7 separate regions of the Homo sapiens genome follow, and all the other regions are linked to region 6. The links are contacts of gene promoters, found by promoter capture Hi-C in blood cells and fetal thymus (Javierre and others, 2016). All regions are on one chromosome and are shown on one strand. Each heading gives the region's core, a stretch centred on a gene start or on the middle of the fragment in contact. The rest is flanking DNA. Distances are from core to core; before and after follow the strand shown. Region 1 overlaps ASB8 (ankyrin repeat and SOCS box containing 8). Region 2 overlaps SENP1 (SUMO specific peptidase 1). Region 3 has its middle 11 kb from the start of ASB8. Region 4 overlaps LOC105369750 (a long non-coding RNA gene). Region 5 overlaps LOC102725258 (a long non-coding RNA gene). Region 6 holds the start of ANP32D (acidic nuclear phosphoprotein 32 family member D). Region 7 overlaps SENP1 (SUMO specific peptidase 1).

Region 1 (3,049 bases), core at 3-2,502, 320 kb before region 6:
TGTGCAGCTGGAGTTGAGAACATAAAAGCAGTAATTCCAAATTTGGGGTGGGAGAAGGTATAAAGGAAGGGGAAGCTCTTCAGATACTCTGCCCAAGCCCTCCTGTTCACTCCAGCAATGCCCAGAATCACTGCTGCTAATGGGAGAAAGGTTGGGATGGAAAGTTACATAGAACAGCCAGGCAGTAAACGAAGAACTTTTTCTAAGGGGGGTTGGAGAAAAGTAGGAAAAGTAGAAATTGCCAAACTTGCTTTTAGAACTATTTATTCTTTTTTTTTAAGTGATGTTTTTTAAACACCAGCATCAATAGGACAGAAGAAGACATCTGTTTTCCAATTAGCTGTGTCAGTAGATTCCATTCATTGTTTGTAGTTCCCAATCAGCTTTAAAAAAAAAAGTTTTTCAAATTTGCATACAAGTCATCTAAAATCAATAACAACTTGATCTAATTTAGAAAAATGAAAGAGTATCGTTCACTAAAGCAGATCTCTTTTGGGTAGATGGACCATCACAAAAGGAGCTCTTACATGCTTTTCCCACTCCCATCCCAAGTCCACCCTCCCACCAATTGTATTGTATAAATCAATAAAAAGCAAAGGTTCCAGAACAACTGAAAGAAAAATAATTCCAAACTAAGCAGAGTGAACTTTCCATTGGGAATGAAGACCCATGGGAAAAGGCAGCCCAGCCCATAACTCCTCCCTGCTGGAACACACACCGTAGGTGTAGGAACTGCCTGGGAATCCCATTAGAACACACTGTTTCTCAGGAAGAGAAAAAGCTGCATTACAAGAAAAGTTCTCAGGACTTTAGGAGTTCTTAGGACTGTTATTTCAGAGCTATTTATTACTGTTATTACAGAGCTCTTGTTATTTCAGAGCTACTGTAGCCCTTGGGCACAACCAACAGAAAGAGGCAAAGACTGCTGTTTCCTTTGATGAGGGGAAAGAGGTCCAGTCCCTTCCAAATGCCCCAGGACATGGCACAGTAGGGATGTCATCCAGCCCAGTTCTGGATCTGCACCATTTGAGGTTATAGTATCTTCATCTTTGGGACACAATTGCTGTTAGCTGAAATTGTGATTTTCTTAAGTTTTTTCACAGATCAATTAAAATGGTTTTTTTTTTTTTTTTTTTTTTTTGAGACAGTTTTGCTCTTGTTGTCCAGGCTGGAGTGCAATGGCGCGATCTTGGCTCACTGCAACCTCTGCCTCACAGGTTCAAGCGATTCTTCTGTCTCAGCCTCCTGAGTAGCTGGGATTACAGGCGCATGCCACCATGCCCAGCTAATTTTTGTATTTTTAGTAGAGACGGGGTTTCATCATATTGGTCAGGCTGGGCTCGAACTCCTGACCTCAGGTGATCCACCTGCCTCAGCCTCCCAAAGTCCTGGGATTACAGACGTGAGCCACCATGGCTGGCCTAAAATGCTTTCTAGAAGGGATTCTTCTGGACCGTTAACCACGTCCCCAAAGGAAAACCACACACACATTATTTAAGTACTTTCCATCTTCCTAGAGAAATTTAGTTACACTGTTGACTCCTTCCCTAAAGGGGAGGATTGAGGGAGACCTCTTCTTTTGCAAAATGCAATATAAAAAGCCAGGTAAGCAATAAACAGAAAACAAAAGTGAGGGATTTTTTTTGTTGGGTTGTTTGGTTTGGGAAGGGGAGGTGCTATGGAGGTTATTGTTGTGACATGTTGCTTCGAAATCTATAAACCACACAACAGGAACAACTGTTTTTCTGTTTTCTGTGACAAGGAGTACTGCAGGGACAACCTCACCCAGAGCTGCCTGCACGATGGTGCAAACATCTTCTCCGGCTATTCTAAAAGTAACAGGTATTCCTTCAAAGAAGCTGGCAGTGGAAGGCCCTTCACTGCATCGGGGAGATACTGGAGTCCCAGGCTACGGCGCACGGCATAGCGAGCGAGTGTTTTTAGAGTTCCTGGAGCTGAGCACAGAACAGTCAGTTTTTCACATAGCTGCGGGTCTCTGGCCACCTCTCGTGGCATGGTGCCATTTTTCCTCAATTCAAAGTGTCCAACAGCTCTGTGGAGGAGCTCAAAGCAAGAGTCCTCTTTCTCTGTTCCAAGTCCCCTGACTAGCAGAGCCACCAGGCGGGAGATGGGTGTCTGGCCTATTAGGTTGATGACTCTGACCTCTGCGCCATAATCCAGAAGGATGCTGACACTCTCAAGATTTCCCTTCATGGCAGCCCAGCTGAGCGGTGTATCATTGTTGTAATCCAGGGCATTGACAGAGGCCCCGCTCTCTAGGAGAGCCCGCACACACTCAGCATTGTTCTTAAAGGCTGCCCAGTGAAGTGGGGTATCTCTGTTGCCATCCAAAGCATTGGGGTTTGCACCATACTCCAATAGGACCTCCACACAAGCCTCATCTTTCTCTGCTGCATAGTGGAGGGCTGTTCGGTTATACCCATCCAGGGCATTCACCTGTAAAAAGGGAGGAACTATTACAGTAGACAGACTACTGAGAGGAAGACAGGACAGCAGCAAAGAAGCTTGCATGGTTACCCACTACCTTTGCTATGCAGTGCTCTGAACAGGAGGGTCAGCAAGCAACTCCCAGGGAGTCCTGGTGATAAAGATGAAGATATGACAGGAGCTTAGGAGCAAAAAGGAAAAGAACTGTCCTCAAACAGTCAACACTATTATGTGCACTGACTAGCTGGTCTGCATTATTTTGGTTTTTGCTGCAATGTTCTTTTATCTATTCATTAGAATCTCTACCACAGAGTAAGGGGTAAGGCAGGAATAGAGGAAGTCTAAGTCCCCGTAACTGCTCTGAAACATTACTGGAAAGCTGCTTGACTATACAGAGTTTTGGATTATTTTACTTACCCTGACCCTTTCTGTACCCTGTGGCTAATGTAGCAACCAAACTGAAAAACATAGCTTTTGCTAAGTTCTTTAACCATACAGAGAAATTCAAAATGTTAGAATATAAGTCAGACCTTTGCAAAAATATGCTGTGGGTTCACAAGAGAACCCAAATGAAAGCATGTGATAGGAAGAGCACAAATCT
Region 2 (2,753 bases), core at 67-2,566, 410 kb before region 6:
CTTTGAAAGCCTACGAAGTATGGTACTTTGAAAATGGTGCTTTTTAAGATAGCTCCCATCATTATTATGGACATGTGAACTGGCACTCATTTTCAAGGATAACATCATTCTGAACTGAGAAGAAATGCACTCCTTCTACAAAAGTTATGGCTAGGGGTGGTAGGGATAAAGTAGACAAAGAATCTTTCCTTCTTCTCATCTCCTCTAAAATAATGTAATTTCCATTAACTTAGCTTGCTAAAAATCCAGCCTCTGATGGGCCCAGGGAATGGAAAATATGTCCTGATGAATGCTGTCTCTGTAAGGAATCTCACTGAGGTAAATGCCACAGTAAATAGCAAGAACTCAGCTCATATCCTACTGATTGCTGCCCTCTAGGAGGTTTTCCATGATTTACAACAAACTAAAGCCTACTATCCCTTTAGAGTAACTGACCTCGCACCACCAGCAATGGCAGGAAATAAATGGCAAAGGACCACAGATCAAAAATAACTTATCAGTGGATACTTATAACTATCCTTGATTTAATTTCCTCCTTTGATTTGGTGAGCTCTTTTTTTCCATTATTTGAACCAATGTTCTAATATCTGAGCCAAAAGAGGCAAAGAGGGTTTCTTCTAAAGAAAGACAGTAACAAACCATGCCTTCCTTATTATTCTTGGTCACAGATATTATTCAGGGAGTGATGAGCTTCTGAAATTTTTATCTTATAAACCAACCAGTGGCAAAAAGAATGGGGCTGGCCCCAGAGAAAAAAAGCATCCTGGACATGATATATGGCTCCTAAGTTCTATATATCTGATCCTAAGACCAGTATCCAATTTAAGATTCTGAGGTAGTTAAGATATAGTAGATAAGACCCAATGCTTGGGTCTTAATCTTGGCTCTGCTGTTTACTAGCTGTATAACCTTGCAAGTTTTTAAATCTTTCTATGCCTTGTTTCTTTATCTGCAGAATGGTGAACTATCATATCTACTTCCAAAGATATGATGACTATTACAAGAATAAAACACATAAAACATGAATCGTACTAATGAGGTAAATGATCAATAGTTATTGGCAAATATTATTTGGAAGGTCTTGATCATACAAAAACAGGATATGGATATCTAAAATATTTAATGATTACTACACTGAGAAACTAAAAATCCTCCACAGCTGTGAAGCTTGAGTATACCCAGATTAGCCAGGGATGCTTATGCAAAGAAGGTACTTAGGAAAAGATACCCAACCCAGTTTTCTTTTGCTGTAAAAATAACCTTCTAAAATAAAACAGGTACCTACAGGTTTAGGCTTAGGAACAGATCAGTTTAAAAACTGTAGTGTAATTAATATACTTAAAATAAATTGGAGTTAGGAGGTGAAGACCGTAACTTCTCCCCCAATACCTCAAATATTTAATAATAATATAACTTTTTCAATGTCCATTTAAAAAATATCATACATAAATGGAGGCGATTTTGGAAAGCTTGTCATTCGTAATATAAGTGATCTAAAATGAGTAGAACTTAGGTAGAAAGGGAAGTAAAACTGGATTCCTATAAAGAAATCCCACAGTATTCCCTCATGCTGCAACATGGTCGGCTAATACTTATTTGTTCAGAAGAGATGAACTGCAGAATAGGAGCCTTAAAGAGTGAGAATACCAATGAGTGAATGTCTTCTTCAATGTTCAAATCTTCAACAAGAAAAGGTAAATTCAGTGGTTCTCAGACTTTAAAATACACCTGAGATGTTTGTTAAAAATGCCTGTCTCCACCACACTCCCTCATAGTTACAAGAATGAAGAGGCCTATGAGAGATGATTCCAATGCAGGTCATCCATGGACCACATTTTGAGAAAAAGTGAGATAATGCCTTAATTTAACTGCCACTTAATGTTTACTATTTGTATGTAAAAATAGATGCAACATTACCTCATCATTGAGCCAATTCAGATGGTTTAGAGTTTGAATATCTTTGCGTGTAATGGTCAGGCGAAATGCTTCACTGAGAACTTCATCCTGATTCCCATTACGAAATACATTCTTTATTTCTTTCTCCATTTCCTAAGAAAACAAAAGGTGTCAAGACATCAAACACGCGTGGCTTCAGAAAAACCGTATTTCTCACCAAACCCCATATAATCCTCAGACTATATTTATCACCATTCGATTGTTTATAAATTTACTGTTAATCAGTTTACTTCTAACATTTTGGTTTCTATTCCTTCCCAGTAATCCCCGATTACTTCTTTCCACTTCATCTAGTCCTCCCTTCTCTTTTTCAGCACAACATTCAGATCCTTGTTTCCATATTAATTCCTAAAGTCTGGAACAACCTTCCGCTATCAAATTTTCTAAGCACATGAGAAAAATTAACTGTATTTTATATCTCTGGTCCAAATGACTTCCTGAGAAACAGAATTTTTCATAAAAGGTAGTAAGAGAGTAAAGGCAGTATCTTTTAGAAATTACTTTCTTAGAGATCTTTTTTTTTAAATGTAAAGTATGGAATTCAGTACAACTATAATAAGTGTGTTATGCTCACCAGCTACATGGTAGTGTTTCAAAGAGAAGTATGGATAAAGAAACGGATTATCTAAAAATGTACACAGACCTCCATGTATTTTCCAAATTTTCTATAATGGGTTTTATTACTTAAAAAAAGAGCAAATCTCAGCTTACAATTTGAGGTCAAACTATTGTATGTGTGCATTAAGTAAAAATGCACATGACATGAAAGACAAATGTATTAAATGCTTCTTCACTGA
Region 3 (2,768 bases), core at 31-2,530, 300 kb before region 6:
TTAATATAATTAATATAATTATATCTAAGAAGGAAAGTCCTGTAATTATCTTCCTAGGTGCTGAAAAAGCATTTGAAAAAATTAAAGTTGAATTTCCTATAAAAGTAAGTTACAAAAGAAGAATGGGAGATAATTTTCTTAACATCATACAGCATCTTGTTTATCATCATCTTACTATTTTCATAGGAAAACACTGGAGGCATTCCTGTTAATGTCTGAAACAAGACAAGGATACCCACCATTACTGTAACATTAACACGATGTTGGAGGTATTTGCCAATGCATTTTTACAAAAGAAACCTATTGGATGTGTGAAAACTGTTGATGATATAGGTATACCTAGATAACAAAAGCAAATCAATGAATAAACTACACAAACAAAAAGATGAATCTATATGGTAGCAGAATATAAAAGCTATATACAGAAGTCAACAGGCTTCACACGTAAGATACAAGGATGAACCAGTTAGAAAATAATATGGAATCAAGAGCCAATTGGTAATAGTGACCACAATTACAAAACTCCTAGGTATAAAGGTAAAAGAAATATGTAAAGCCTATGAGGAAAACTATTAATATAATAGCTTCAGAGACATAAAACAGACCTGAAAAAAATGAAAGACATTCTAAGTGAATTTGTAAATTTAACATTATTCCAATAAAAAAGCCAAGGGTTTTTTTGTTTCACTTTGTTTTTTAGTTATACAAATTGATTCTTAAGTTCATATGGAAGAAATAACAAGAATATCCAAGAAAGTCCTGAAAAGAAGAGCAATGAGGAGGGGCCAGTCTTATCGGACATTTAAGATATTACAAAACCTTCATAATCAAACTAGTATAAAATTGGTGCATATAGACAGACACACTAATGGAACATAGTAGAAAGTCTAGGCATCAATCTAAGTACATATAAAAATTTAATGTATGTTAGACATTATAAAACAATGTGAAAAATGGACTTTAAAAATATATGCTGTTGAGACAACTGGGTACCATGTGGAAGAAGGTAACATTGGATCCATAGCTTATACTGCACATCCAAGAAAAACTCCACGTGGCTTCGTTAGCTAAACATGACTACATGGAAACTCTTCAAGTCTAGAAGAAGGCACGTGTAGATTTCTGTGTAAACTACCCATGCATCCCTGGGAATAGCGGGCAAAGCATTCCTATGTCTCAAAACCCAGAATCAATAAAAGACTAGTCAATTCTATTACATATATATGTATATATATATGTTATTTTACCTTTATTTCCTTCACTTTAAGCCAATCATGAAATTTCACAGTGATTTTTGGGGTGGAGGGGGTGGGCGGCGGTGTTAAGAATCATCGGGGCTGTGGCTCAATTGGCCCGCGGAGGTGCAGGCAGAGTGGGCAGGCCCTCACTGGAGCAGCCGGAGGAGCACGGTCTGCCCCGCCAGCAGGTAGATCATGCTCCGAGAGCATGAGAGCTGTTACGCGATGTCCTCCGCAGCTTCCAGCTTGGGCAACTCAGGCCGTCTCCTGCAGTGGCCAGTGAGTTGGCAATCAGCTCGGCTGCTTTGGAGTCGCCCTCAGCAGAGATGATGGCTGCCTTTTTCTGCTGCTCAGCCGTTTCCACCACAGATCTGGCCCTCTCTGCTTCCTGCTGAGCCACCTGTTTGGCTTATAACGCTTCTGTGAATTCCTTCCCGAAGGTCAGATGTGTCAAGGACACGTCGTCCAGGATGAGCCCTAAGGTGGCTGCTCGCTCCGTAAGGTCGTTGTTCACCTGCCTGGAGACCAACTCTCTCTGGGTGATTACTTCTCCAGCATCGAAGCTAGCCACCACTGACTTGAGGACCTTGGTCGTGGTGGACGTCAGCACACGCTCATCATAGTCGTCTCCGATGCTGAAGATGCGAGGAAGCTGGCTAACGATGGGCCGGAAGATGATGCGCAGTGTGATGTTGACATTCTGTAAATCTTTGCTACCAGTGATGACTGGTACATTACGAGGTGGAGAATGGCAGTCAAAGATAATTGGTTTCTGTACCCATGGGATGAGAAAGTGAGTCCCTTCCCCCACCACAATGTCCTGTACTCCACGGAATCGGTCAAAGATGACAGCTCTGCCGCCCAGCATACACATTATATAAGGCGGAGTTCACCACGCCTCCTGCAACAGCAAAGGCCGGGCCAAACTTGCCGATGGACTCAAACACTTTGGCTGCCATGTTTTCTTCTGCTGGACCCTCTCACACCTGCTTCCACTCTGATCTACACATGAATTCCCCAGCCACCCAATTCTATTATATATTGTTTTTTTAAAAATGTATAGCCCAAATACCATAAGCAAAGCCAAAGACAAATGAGTCACTGGACAAAACAATCGCAATTTTTACAACAGAATAAAAAGTAATCTCCCTAATTTACAGGAGCTCTGAGAAATAAAAAGACACAGATCCAGTAGAAAAATGAGCACAAGACATGAACAGATAGAAACAATTCATGCAAGTGGCCCTTAAAATAGTAAAACATGCACAACTCACTGAAAAAAGAAAGGCAAATTACATTACATTGAAACAGCATTTCTTATTATGTTGGCAAAAATTCAAAAGTTTGAGAGTACACTTTGTTGCTAAAACTCTAGGGAAAAGAGACACAGTGATATGCTACTGGTAGAAGTATAGAGTGATATAGTCCTTAAGGAAGGGAATTTAGTACAATCTAGCAAAATTACAAATGGATTAATCTGTCCTTTAACCCAGCAATGATATTTTTGGGGACTCTACACTAAAAGTACTT
Region 4 (3,126 bases), core at 247-2,746, 440 kb before region 6:
GCCATGCATTAGATGCTGGGCTCGGCACTGCCTGTCTGCAAACTCTTCGTACCCCAAGACGTGAGTATTATTAGCTCCCTTTTAAAGACAAGCAAACGTAGACACTAGAATATGTTATTTTGGGGCTCCCCAGACTCTGGGAATTCACTAGAACTCTACCTATTGATACTTGGAACTTCTGAAACAGACACATTCCTTCATTCCAGAATTAGTCATAAAAAGGCTGAATGAGGCCGGGCGTGGTGGCTCACGCCTGTAATCCCAGCACTTTGGGAAGCTGAGGCAAGCAGATCATGAGGTCAAGAGATGGAGACCATCCTGGGCAACATGGTGAAACCCCGTCTCTACTAAAAATACAAAAATTAGCTGGGCGTGGTGACGTGTGCCTGTAGTCCCAGGTACTCAGGAGGCTGAGGCAGGAGAATTGCTTGAACCCGGGAGGCAGAGGTTGCGGTGAGCCGAGATCGCGCCACTGCACTCCAGCCTGGTGACAGAGCGAGACTCCACCTCAAAAGAAAAAAAAAAAAGGCCGAATGCCTGTGGAGGCTAAGGCAGCACACTGAAACTCACTCCTGAAGGGTCATTAGAATGATTGTCTGGTATCTGGAATTCCCTGGCCTGTCAAGGATGATGGGGGCTGCCCTGAGCTGGGGAACATGCTCGGCTGAGGGAGGTGGAGGACAGTGGCAGGCCTGTGTGCACTCCCAGCGTTGCCTCAGTGAGCTGTTTGCCTTCACTGGGCAGGGACCCACAAGGGTCATGTATTTTTGTCATGCCTGACGGGGAATGCACATGATTTATGAAGTTTTTTTTAACCTGAGGCTTCCTCATAAAAGAGCTTTGAGAAGACTGCAGCCAATCTGGTTATGAAAGGCCTTCCTTTCTGGGATCTGTTAGACAAGATATTGTTGACTGCCTGCCCTCAAGAATGAGGGACCACGTGTGCTCCACCCTAGGTCTGGAATGGCCCAAGACCCCAGGAAAACTGCACGTGGATTTGTACCTTGTTCTCCTATCCCATCTCAGGCTTCTTGCCCTCTACACCCTCTTAGCTGACATTTCTACCCCCAAGAAACCTGCCCCAAGAGATCTCTGAGTCCCTGATCCCTTATGCCCTTGACATCAAAGGTCCAAGCTTCCCTGGACAAGTCACTTGACCTCACTAAGTCTCTTTTCTCATCTGCAAAATGAGCATAAAAATATCCACCTTGAAATCTTCATAGTAAGGGATTCAATCAATGTCTCACCAGCTGGAAAGCTCTCTGAGCTCTCTCTCTCTCCATGTGTCATTTAATCTTGTCTCCCTAGCACCTAACAGAGTGCCAGGCACATAGAGGCCAATACTAAGTGGCAACTTGTAGAAATGACTTCTACTGAATTCAGTGAATTCAGTGATGAGGAATAAGTAAAATGTGTTTGTAAATTGCAAGCACAGTGCCTGGCACTTGGTAAGCATTTAGAAAATTTGGGTTACGCCTGCATTTGAATCTGACTCTCCCCTACAGATGCCGGACCCAAGACTCTGGCCCCAGTGGTGAGGCAGGGACCCCAAGGTTCCAGCCATCTCCTCCTGGCCTGACTGGGGCTGCAGGGGACCTGTGTCAGTCTCCCTCCTTGGCGCCCCCTCCCCCATCCCAGACCCCTGGCCTCTTGATATCCCGGCAGCAGCCCCCACAGCCCCTCTGGGGTGGTGGGCGTCCCTGTGTCGGCACAGCTAGGCTGGGCCCCTCTCCAGGGAAGGGGCTGAAGGGTGTGAAGGACTGGTGTGTATGACTTTGTTTATTTTCTCTGAAGAATCCTGCCTGAGCCCTGCTATAAAAATAACCTGCCTGGAAACCTCATCTCCAAGGGGTAGAAAGAAGCTTTTGTATCCAGGGAAGCTGCTCTAACTGCCTCCCTGTACCTTCGCCTCAGCCCATGCATCAAGGAGGAGCCAGCCAAGGTGATGAGGGGCCAGGGCAAGGGAGAGGGATGTGTGGGGAGGGAGGAGGGGACGGAAGGGCAGCTCAGCAGCCTCTTGCCCTGAGCACGGCAGAAGCCTCTCACTTGTCTGCTCGACCCAGGAAGATCCAAAGGAGGAACTGAGGGAGAGAGAGGGAAAGAGGAAGTCAACAAGAGAAAAAAACACTGGATGTTGAGAGAGACAAGGAGGCCAGGAGACAGAAGATCAAATCCAGGACAGAGGAGGGGCATGGGGAGAGTGGGGAGGAGAGTGAAGTCAAAGGAGAAAGAAAACCAAGAGACGTGTATGCAGAGACACAGAGCTCAAGGGATCAGAAAGAGGCTGTGGCCATGTTTACAGACGTAGCTTAGCATGTGGTCCCCACCACCAAGGGAGAAAGCAGGCACAGCCAGGCTGTCCCTGCCACCTGCTGGGTTCCTGCTCTGCTGCACAGCCCAGCTTCCACTCTGGCTCAGGCTGTGGCAGAAAAGACAAAGGTCCCCCGAGCACCCACTATGGCCAGGCCCTGGGTGAGGCATGAGACCAAGCCCCACTAAGGCTTCTCAAAGTGTTCCTTCCCAGGAGCCAGGCCTGATGGCACGGAGCAAGTCTGCACTGTCACCAAATTCAGGAGGCCTGGATTCAAGTCCCAGTTCTCCTGCTTTTTAGCTGGGTGATCTTGTACAAACCACTTAGAATTTCCCAGCCTGGTTCTCTTATCTGTAAACCATAAATAGTAAACCTCCCTGTCTACCTCCCGGGGCTGTTGAGCAGATCTATGGAAGCATATCTGAACAGGTTCTCCAAGTTGTATGGTGCCAGCAAGACAAGAGGGAATGACCCATTCCTTTAGCCATATTTCTCTAGGTAGCCATCTTAGGATCATGGGTGAGCCATACGGAGAATGAACCAACATAGGAAACTCCTATTACCTCTGTTTTCACAGTAGAGGAAACTGAGGCTTAAACAGGTTAGTAACATGCTCACCATCGTGTATTAATAGCTCTTAGGCAACAGAACATGAATCCAGGTCTCTATATTCAGAGTCTGTGTAGACCCAGAGTGCTGGGCCTTCTCTCCAATCTAATGGCAGAGGCTGCCCAAGAATGACCTGGGACAGTCTGCTCCACTTCCTTTAAGGATGAATTAATTTCCAATTGTTCTATGCAGGCCAGACCTATCTC
Region 5 (2,813 bases), core at 183-2,682, 270 kb before region 6:
TTTTTTTTTAGAGATGGGATCTCGCTGTGTCGCCCAGGCTAGAGTGCAGTGGCGGGATCATAGCTTACTGCAGGCTGGGGTCAAGCAATCCTCCCGCCTCAGCCTCCTGAGTGTATGGGATTATAGGCGCAGGCCTCTATGCCATTGTAAATGCTGTGGATTTTGAGTATTTGACCTCTATGAGCCTCAGTTTTTGCATCTCAACATTGAGATAATACTAGTACCTCATAAGGTTATGTGACGATTAAATGGAAAGCTCTTACAATATAAGTGCTTAATAAGTATGTTATCATATGTGCTTCCAAAGTACTTTGTGTAGGCCTTTTATAACGCTTGCCCTTTCTATTACCATTATTTGTTCTTGCCTGCCCTACTAGACTGAGATTCTCAAAAGCTGGAACTGTCTTGTTTATAATCTCAGCGTCTGTCAGTGCTGGGCAAATGTAAAGCTAAGAAATGATTTCTTAGAAAACTTTTTAAAAGCAGTCTTTCTTCTCCTTTCCCTTTCTTCCTTTCCTTCACTTTTTCCTCTTTGAGATAGGAATTTTCAAACCTAGAGAAGAAGCTGAGACCCTAGGGGGAAAGATTGGGACCTTTTTGTTGTTGTTCTCAGTGGTGACCAAAAGAGCCTTAACATTCACCTCAGCCTGACAACTTTAGACAGGTTTCTTCTGGATGTTAGGGCCCTGACCTCCCCTTTCTTTGAGTGTTTACTTTAGAAAACTTGTGATTGCAAAATTCTTCTCTGCTCCTTTGAAATGTGTATAAATCTCCTTAGAAGCTTATGCCAGTTTTACGACCTAGGGAATGTCTTTCTCAAGGACCTGTGAGCCATCCCTTTGAAATGTAATCATCAAGGAAGATAGCACCCCTATCTCTCAGTCTCTGTGGGAGGGTGGGAGCCTAACCTCCTGTGGGTGCCTTGTTTGGAATTGTAAAACTACAGCTTGTTTTGAAGATACAAGAAAGTGTCCTTTTCCTTTGCAGTTAGCAAACACAGATGTCATGTGATTTCCCGTACAGCAGCTCTTAAAAACTTCCCAGACCCTTGTTTGAGTAGTGTTGAGTTTAATCTCGTATTGCAATAGTCTTAAGGTCTTTCTTGCCTGTTTAACTTTGATGCAAATTTTGACAATGGAAATTTTAGGTTCTGCATTTATCGTTTCTTCCCAATTACAGTGGTTTCTCCTTTCTCCTTGTTAAGAAGAGCTTCTCACATCCTCTGATTTCTGGAGAAATCAATTTGGACTCAAAAGATTGGAGTTTTGTGGAGTGAAGCTACTGTTTTTGTTTTGTTTTGTTTTGTTTTGTTTTGCCTGAGATAGAGTCTCACTCTGTCACCCAGGCTGGAGTGCAGTGGTGTAATTATGGCTCACTGCAGCCTCTGCCTCCTGGGTTCAAGTGATCCTCCTGCCTCAGCCTCTCAAGTAGCTAGAATTACAAGCATGCGCTACCACGCCCAGCTAATTTTTGTATTTTTATTAGAGACGGGGTTTCACCATGTTGACCAAGCTGGTCTTGAGCTCCTGGCCTCAAGTAATCTGCCCACCTTGGCCTCCCACAGTGCTGGAATCACAGGTGTGAGCCACCACGTGCTGCCAGAAGCTACTGTTTTAAGTCATCATTGCAAAGGGTAGTGTGTGATGCGCAGGAGTGGAAAGGGCAGTACATCTATTTGAGAGCATCCCAAATGAGGTCCATTCATATTATGGAAGTGCACTGCGAAATAAAGAACAGGCCTACCCCCTTGTTTTATTATGAAGGGGTATGAGAAAAATGCAATTTTCAAAGAAAGAGAACTGCTGAGGATGTAGTACCTTCTCAAAGAAAGCTGTGTTTGGTTAAGGTGAGAAGCTAGAGGAAGCCACAGAGGGCAGGGTTACAAATTGAAAGACTTCTGCAATGGTAGAGGTAGTATGCAGAAGGGTTCCTTAAAATACAGGGATCCATGTAAGATGAGGAGGTAAGGTGGAGTAGGATTGAGGTGGAATGAAATGAAAGATGGAAGAGAAAAAGGAAGGCAGTAGGGGGAGAGGGGAGTTAATTTGGGGTATGGATAACAGGGAAGGAAATAGGTAACCTGAGAAGCTTGGTAGAGGCACTTGCCACTTGCATGGGAAGGGAAATATCATGCAGACGGTCCTGTTGCTAAAGGAAGCTAGAGGATTTAGGAGAAGGGGTTTGGCACACTGGCCTCTATCACCCATCCGTCCCCGACAACACACAACACAGACAAATTGAGTGCACTGTTGACATTTAGTATCATTCTCCCCCCATGACTGGTGGAAGCTAAGAAGATGAAGTTCAGGGTGCTGATCTTTTTTTTTTCTTTAACTGACTTTTCTTATGTGAGTACTTACCCCTAGTTCCCTCTTTCTTCCCTTCCCTTCCCTCCCTCCCTCCTTCCCTCCCTTCCTTCCTTCCTTCTTCTTCTTCATTTTTTTTTTTTTTAATGAGACAAGGTCTTGCTGCGTTGCTCAGGCTGGAGTGCAGCAGTGCTATCATTGCTCGTGCAGCCTTAACCTCCCAGGCTCAAGCAATCCTCCCACCTCAGCCTCCTCAGTAGCTGGGACTACAGGCATGTGCCACCACACCCAGTTCATTTTTTAAATTTTTTGTAGAGATGGGTCTCCCTATGTTGCCCAGGCAGGTCTCAAACTCCATCCTCAGCCTCCCAAAGTGCTGAGATTACAGTCATGAGCCACTGCGCCCAGCCCTTTTTTTCTTGCTTCTTTACCTACTTTTCACAGGAATTGGGTAGATGAGGGTAGACCCAGGAAGTGAGAGTGGAATTTGAGAAAGAAAAACAGTAA
Region 6 (3,062 bases), core at 254-2,753:
CTTATTCATTCTTTTTATTTTTTTGTACCCATTAACCATCCTCATCTCCCCCCAACAGCCCCCACTACACTTCCCAGCCCCTCCTCCATGAGTTCTATTGTTTTGATTTTTAGATCCCACAAATAAGTGAGAACATGCAATGTTTGTCTTTCTGTGCCTGGCTTATTTCACTTAACATAATAAACTCCAGTTCCATTCATGTTGTTGCAAGTGACTGGATCTCATTATTTTTATGGCTGACGAGTACTCCATTGTGTATATGCACCACATTTTCTTTATCCATCCATCTGCTGATGGACATTTAGGTTGCTTCCAAATCTTAGTAAACAGTGCTGGAACCAACATAGGAGTGCAGATATCTCTTCTATATACTAATTTCCTTTCTTTGGGGCATATTTTCTAGGATTTTTATAGGTTGAAGTCTTGCATTTAAAACTTTAATCCATCTTCAGTTAGTTTTTATGTATGGTGAAAGGTAAGGGTCTGGTTTCATTCTTCTGCATATGGCTAGCCAGTTATCCCAGCACCATTTATTGAAAAGAAAGTCCTTTCCCCATTGCTTGTTTTTCTTGGTCTTGTCAAAGATCAGATATTTTTAAGTGTAAGGCTTTATTTCAGAAGTTTCTATTCTGTTCCATTTGTCTATGTGTCTGTTTTTGTGTCGATACCATGCTGTTTTGGTTACTATAGCTTTATAGGATAGTTTGAAGTCAGGTAGTGTGATGTCTCTGGCTTTGTTCTTTTTACTTGGGGCTACTTTTGCTATTCAGGCTATTTTTTGGTTCCACGTGAATTCAGAGTAGTTTTTTTCTAATTCTGTGATGGATGACATTGGTAATTTGATAGAAATAGTGTTGAATCTGTAAGCCACTTTGGGGAATATGACCGTTTTAATAATATTGATCTTACAATTCATGAACATGGGATGTTTTTCCACTTATTTGTGCCATCTCTGGTTTCTTTGAGCAGTGATTTGTAGTTCTCCTTGTAGAAATTTTTCACCTCTCCTTGGTTAGCTGTATTCCTAGGTATTTCATTTTCTTTGTGGCTATTGTAAATGGGGTTGTGTTCTTGATTTATTCTCAGCTTGAATACTATTGGTGTATAGAAATGCTACTAGTTTTGTATATTGATTTTGTATCCTGAAATCTTACTAAAACTGTTTATCAGCTCTATTAACCTTTTGGCAGAGTCTTTAGGGTTTTCTGCATTTTAAAATGAGCATTCTGGCTGCTGCAGGAAGATAAGAATGATCTAGTTAGGAGGCTTTGACAACAGTCCGTGAGATATATACTATGGCGTGGCCTAGAGATGATGAGAAGTGATCAGATTTAGGATACACTGTAAAGGTACAGCCAATACATCTATCTGATGTAAAATAGAAAAATAGAGGAAGTAGTCATTATTCTAAGGTTTTGGAGCAACTGGGTGAATGATAGCACAATTTAATGTGATGGGAGATAATAGATTTTGGGTGTGTTTGGAATTAAGAATTTACTTTCGGAGAACCCAGCAGAGCTGGTTGAGCTTTCAAATGTGCGGTTGTGGGTTCGGGGTTTATTGGTTGAATTCCGCTGGCTCAGGAGCCTCTGCAGAGAAAGCGTGAGAGATGGAGATGGGCAAATGGATTCATTTAGAGCTGCGGAACAGGACGCCCTCCGATGTGAAAGAACTTTTCCTGGACAACAGTCAGTCAAATGAAGGCAAATTGGAAGGCCTCACAGATGAATTTGAAGAACTGGAATTATTAAATACAATCAACATAGGCCTCACCTCAATTGCAAACTTGCCAAAGTTAAACAAACTTAAGAAGCTTGAACTAAGCAGTAACAGAGCCTCAGTGGGCCTAGAAGTATTGGCAGAAAAGTGTCCAAACCTCATACATCTAAATTTAAGTGGCAACAAAATTAAAGACCTCAGCACAATAGAGCCCCTGAAAAAGTTAGAAAACCTCGAGAGCTTAGACCTTTTCACTTGCGAGGTAACCAACCTGAACAACTACTGAGAAAAGATGTTCAAGCTCCTCCTGCAACTCACATATCTCAACGGCTGTGACCCGGATGACAAGGAGGCCCCTAACTCGGATGGTGAGGGCTTTGTGGAGTGCCTGGATGACAAGGAGGAGGATGAGGATGAGGAGGAGTATGATGAAGATGCTCAGGTAATGGAAGATGAGGAGGACGAGGATGAGGAGGAGGAACGTGAAGAGGAGGACGTGAGTGGAGACGAGGAGGAGAAGGATGAAGGTTATAACAATGGAGAGGTAGATGATGAGGAAGATGAAGAAGAGCTTGGTGAAGAAGAAAGGGGTCAGAAGCGAAAATAAGAAACTGAAGATGAGGGAGAAGACGATGCCTAAGTGGAATAATCTATTTTGAAAAATTCCTTTTGTGATTTTACTGTTTTTAGCCGTATCCCCTCCCCCACTCCAATCCTGCCCCCTGAAACTTATTTTTTTCTGATTGTAACGTTGCTGTGGGAGCAAGAGAGGAAAAGTGTACTGGGGGTTGTGAGGGAAGGGAGGGGAGGAGGGGGTGGAATAAAATACTATTTTTACTGCCACTCTTTATTTTTTCCCCCTACTTTTTCCTTGTGTCCAGTTTTTGTCCCTGTAAATGCAATAGTTAAGTACACACTAAGCATTTGTTCCTGGCTCTCAAAGAAGATGGTTTGGAGTTCTCTTATGTTTCCTGGTATTTTCCAAGTCTCAGGTTGGGTGGAAGTCCGCGGCTGGTCTCAGTTTGGTTACTCAACACCCAGAAGGGTCTGAGCACCAGCCATAGCTTTTGCTTTGATTCACATGCTTTTCGCGGAACTGCTAGAGGCATCCAACACCCTGGTTTGTAAATAGCAACCTAAAGGTGTATTTTGGCACTGGTTTGGGGACATTCCCCATCTCTCATCCCTTTTCCCCCTTCACAGATCGTGGTGGGCTTCCTTCTACAAAGAGGACTCAGATGTTACTCTTGAGAGCTTAAGAGCCAGAGAGCTGAAAATGGCAGTCTTGTGAGTTACAAGGAAAATGGATTTGGTAATAATAATTAAAAGTGAAGAAACAAACC
Region 7 (2,729 bases), core at 125-2,624, 380 kb before region 6:
AATTACTGTATAATTTTTTAAAAGTTAAGTGAGGAACATGATCCCAGGGAGTATTGACACATTCCTGGAGTCCATGTGCATAAAATAATAAAAGCCATCTTGTTGGCTTCTATCAACACCATAAAGCTCAAACTTGACTAAACAGTACACTAAATAATCCCACATTCCTAAAATATACCAGGGCAGAATTTAAGTAGTCATAAATACTATTTTAAAAAAGAAATGTTTACTAATATAATAAATACTAATATAACAAAATATCTGAGGGAAAAGTTTCTAAGCCAGATTTCATCTGCCTTTAATAATCCATGTAAGTTTTGTTAGATAGAGCTTATAAAGTTGGAATAACTAGCATAAAGTTCTCTGTGACTATCTTTTTTTTTTTTTCTGAGACGAGGTCACTCTGTCACCCAGGCTGGAGCTATAGCAGCATGATCTCAGCTCACTGCAACCTCTGCCTCCCAGGTTCAAGTGATTCTCCTGCCTCAGCCTCTCAAGTAGCTGGGACTACAGGCACACACCACCATGCCTGGCTAATTTTTTTGTATTTTTAGTGGAGACAGGGTTTCACCATGTTGGCCAGGCTAGTCTGGAACTCCTGACCTCAGGTGATCCACCTGCTTCAGCCTCCCAAATTGCTAAGATTACAGGCACGAGTCACCGTGCCCGGTCTGTGACTCTTTATTTTCTAATATATAGAAGTAGCTTGGTCTACTTGACTAATGCCATGAGGTAGAGAACTGCTTTAGTTTAAGTCAGGTCTCTGCTCACTTGATAGCTGTAAAATATGTTTCTTTCCTGCTCAAATTGTGGAGATTGACTGATTTTCACTTTAAGATTTGCAAGAGCCATATTGATCTTGAAGGCTCCCAATATTCTCATATCCACCAAGATTTACTTAAAATTCTCTCTTCTAGTAAGATCTGGCTATCATCAAAATTCAGCACTAAGTAAATGAGAAGTTGAAAATGTAAAATGGATTTGTTCATATCCTTAAGGTTTAAAGTCCAAAAATGGTGTTACTCTTTTAAAATCCCAATGTAATAACTATCTACCTTTTAGTCACTTTCTCTTATGTCTGAGGAAGGGCTTGAGAACTAAGATGACAAAATACGAACCTTGAGGTCTTTCGGGTTTCGAGGTAAAGACTTCGGCTGTTTCTTGATTTTTGTAAAGATGAGCTTGACGATGGGGTAGAATTTCTCCATTGGCCATTTGCACTCTGGCCAAAGGTTCTTAAATCGCCTGAGCCAAGAAAACTGTCTGAGGAAGGATTATCTAAAAAAATAAAAGTTTGAATAAATTAAACAAATTCTACAGGTGGTTCTCCTTATGACTGCAACCATGACCAACCATTGTATTCCAAAGTAATGTGGCATGTCACCATTTCTCTCATGGAAGAAAGATCCCAGTCTCAACTGCCAGTAAAGTCTGCAGTAGGGGAACTTCTACAAACTATAATTGATTCAGCCATACTAACCTGAAAATTGATGAAGGAGCTGAATCCTGCCACAGCCATGTGCCTTATCTGCATCAATGTGACTCCGTGGTGTCCACCAAAAGTCAACATTTTACCCCAACTATATCTTGCAAGCACTCCCAGGCCTGGGCCTGAAAGAAGGTAGGCCAGACCAGTAAGAAAGCAGGTGGGGGGCCAGTGAGAATTGTAATTCAAATGAACAACAGTTATTGATTACTAAGCAGCTAGTGTCACTTTCTTCGTTTTAGTTACCATGTTCAAGACTCAGGTACTCTCTCAAAGAGCAGAGATAACCTAATTGCTGCTTATTCTGGTTGGCTTATGGCAAGGAATGACCCATCATATATATCTGGTTCTGGTATAATAATCTTCAGTCATCTAATGCCATAATCAAACATATTATTACTCCAATGTTTGCTACTACAATCAGATTAACTGAGAATTACTTATTATTTGAATTTTCTAACTTGTGGATTACAATCTGGCATATCAAAAACCTCCTGAAGTTTCAGCTAGGAGTGGTAGAATAATTTCTATAACCTCCTCTCCCTATCTGCAGAATTGGACAATTTAAAACAGCTCCCTCAAAATAACTTCAGACATTAAGTTATGGAACTCTAAGGAGCTCCAGTGAAAACACAAGAATAATAATTCTCTATTTCTGGAATTTTTTTCTAATGCTGACATTATTTTGAAGATATTCTTTTAAAACATATTACTATAGAACTTTTCGCAATATTGTAAATTTATGCTATTAAAAGTATTTAATGTATCTTTTCATGCTCTATCCAAATAGGCAGCCTTCCAAAATATAATTTTGTGCTTCTGTAAGCTAATCAAGATGTCAGGATTTAGGGTAAATAGGAAAAAAGAAGAAGTCATGGCTGGTATTAGCACTTGTTAATTCAACAGTTGGTGACCTTAGTCTGATAATTAAAATAAGCTAATTTACTTTCAAAATGAATTGTAACTTTGTTCCTTTGTAATCAGTATCTATGCTTAGCATCTATTACTATAATTTTGAGGATAGAAACATGATGCTAATGAAAATGAGTCTTAGTAAAGAACTAGAAAATTATTATACTTAAGTTTAAAGTTGTAACAGTAGAAATATTTGTCTCTCACACATTTTGGCTAAAATTTGATTAGGGCATGATCTAAATACAGATATCTATCTGAGGCATCGGTCTGTCAAAAATGCAAATTACCCTAACAGGTGTGAAATTTGAGACCAAGGATAAGTCAGAGT

What was found. The method cuts DNA at HindIII sites, captures the fragments that hold promoters and counts their contacts. A CHiCAGO score of 5 or more calls a contact.
Region 1: a contact is called between a fragment that was not itself captured here and the fragment with the promoter of ANP32D in region 6, in 1 of 17 cell types (M1 macrophages). The highest score is 5.3, in M1 macrophages.
Region 2: a contact is called between a fragment that was not itself captured here and the fragment with the promoter of ANP32D in region 6, in 2 of 17 cell types (M2 macrophages and total CD4 T cells). The highest score is 5.4, in M2 macrophages.
Region 3: a fragment that was not itself captured here is called in contact with the fragment with the promoter of ANP32D in region 6 in 3 of 17 cell types (M1 macrophages, M2 macrophages and M0 macrophages); the score reaches 6.5 in M1 macrophages.
Region 4: a fragment that was not itself captured here is called in contact with the fragment with the promoter of ANP32D in region 6 in 6 of 17 cell types (M1 macrophages, M2 macrophages, neutrophils and 3 more); the score reaches 7.9 in M1 macrophages.
Region 5: a fragment that was not itself captured here is called in contact with the fragment with the promoter of ANP32D in region 6 in 3 of 17 cell types (megakaryocytes, M0 macrophages and M1 macrophages); the score reaches 8.4 in megakaryocytes.
Region 7: a fragment that was not itself captured here is called in contact with the fragment with the promoter of ANP32D in region 6 in 1 of 17 cell types (naive CD4 T cells); the score reaches 5.1 in naive CD4 T cells.

What each region holds. Positions count from the first base shown.
Region 1 is chr12:48,147,542-48,150,590 of GRCh38, forward strand. It overlaps ASB8 (ankyrin repeat and SOCS box containing 8), which reads right to left. Exons shown (of 4, transcript NM_024095.5): 4 at 248-2,457. The coding sequence ends at 1,825. Among named protein-coding and RNA genes, the nearest start is that of ASB8, 8.4 kb to the right of the region's middle. The HindIII fragment of the contact is 2,542 bases long and covers 1-2,523 here.
Region 2 is chr12:48,061,793-48,064,545 of GRCh38, forward strand. SENP1 (SUMO specific peptidase 1) reads right to left here. Exons shown (of 18, transcript NM_001267594.2): 13 at 1,918-2,049. Among named protein-coding and RNA genes, the nearest start is that of SENP1, 43 kb to the right of the region's middle. The HindIII fragment of the contact is 302 bases long and covers 1,166-1,467 here.
Region 3 is chr12:48,167,463-48,170,230 of GRCh38, forward strand. It overlaps the pseudogene PHB1P18. Among named protein-coding and RNA genes, the nearest start is that of ASB8, 11 kb to the left of the region's middle. The HindIII fragment of the contact is 5,418 bases long and covers 1-2,768 here.
Region 4 is chr12:48,027,977-48,031,102 of GRCh38, forward strand. It overlaps LOC105369750 (a long non-coding RNA gene), which reads left to right. Exons shown (of 4, transcript XR_944904.3): 3 at 1,795-1,942; 4 at 3,113-3,126. Among named protein-coding and RNA genes, the nearest start is that of COL2A1, 25 kb to the left of the region's middle. The HindIII fragment of the contact is 727 bases long and covers 1,134-1,860 here.
Region 5 is chr12:48,199,114-48,201,926 of GRCh38, forward strand. The region is part of intron 1 of LOC102725258 (a long non-coding RNA gene); the gene reads left to right. Among named protein-coding and RNA genes, the nearest start is that of OR10AD1, 2.8 kb to the right of the region's middle. The HindIII fragment of the contact is 1,307 bases long and covers 780-2,086 here.
Region 6 is chr12:48,471,056-48,474,117 of GRCh38, forward strand. ANP32D (acidic nuclear phosphoprotein 32 family member D) reads left to right here and starts at 1,504. Exons shown (of 1, transcript NM_012404.3): 1 at 1,504-2,567. The coding sequence starts at 1,610. The coding sequence ends at 2,005. It also overlaps a transcript of C12orf54 not described here. The HindIII fragment of the contact is 4,760 bases long and covers 1-1,811 here.
Region 7 is chr12:48,087,683-48,090,411 of GRCh38, forward strand. It overlaps SENP1 (SUMO specific peptidase 1), which reads right to left. Exons shown (of 18, transcript NM_001267594.2): 5 at 1,119-1,278. Among named protein-coding and RNA genes, the nearest start is that of SENP1, 17 kb to the right of the region's middle. The HindIII fragment of the contact is 6,046 bases long and covers 1-2,729 here.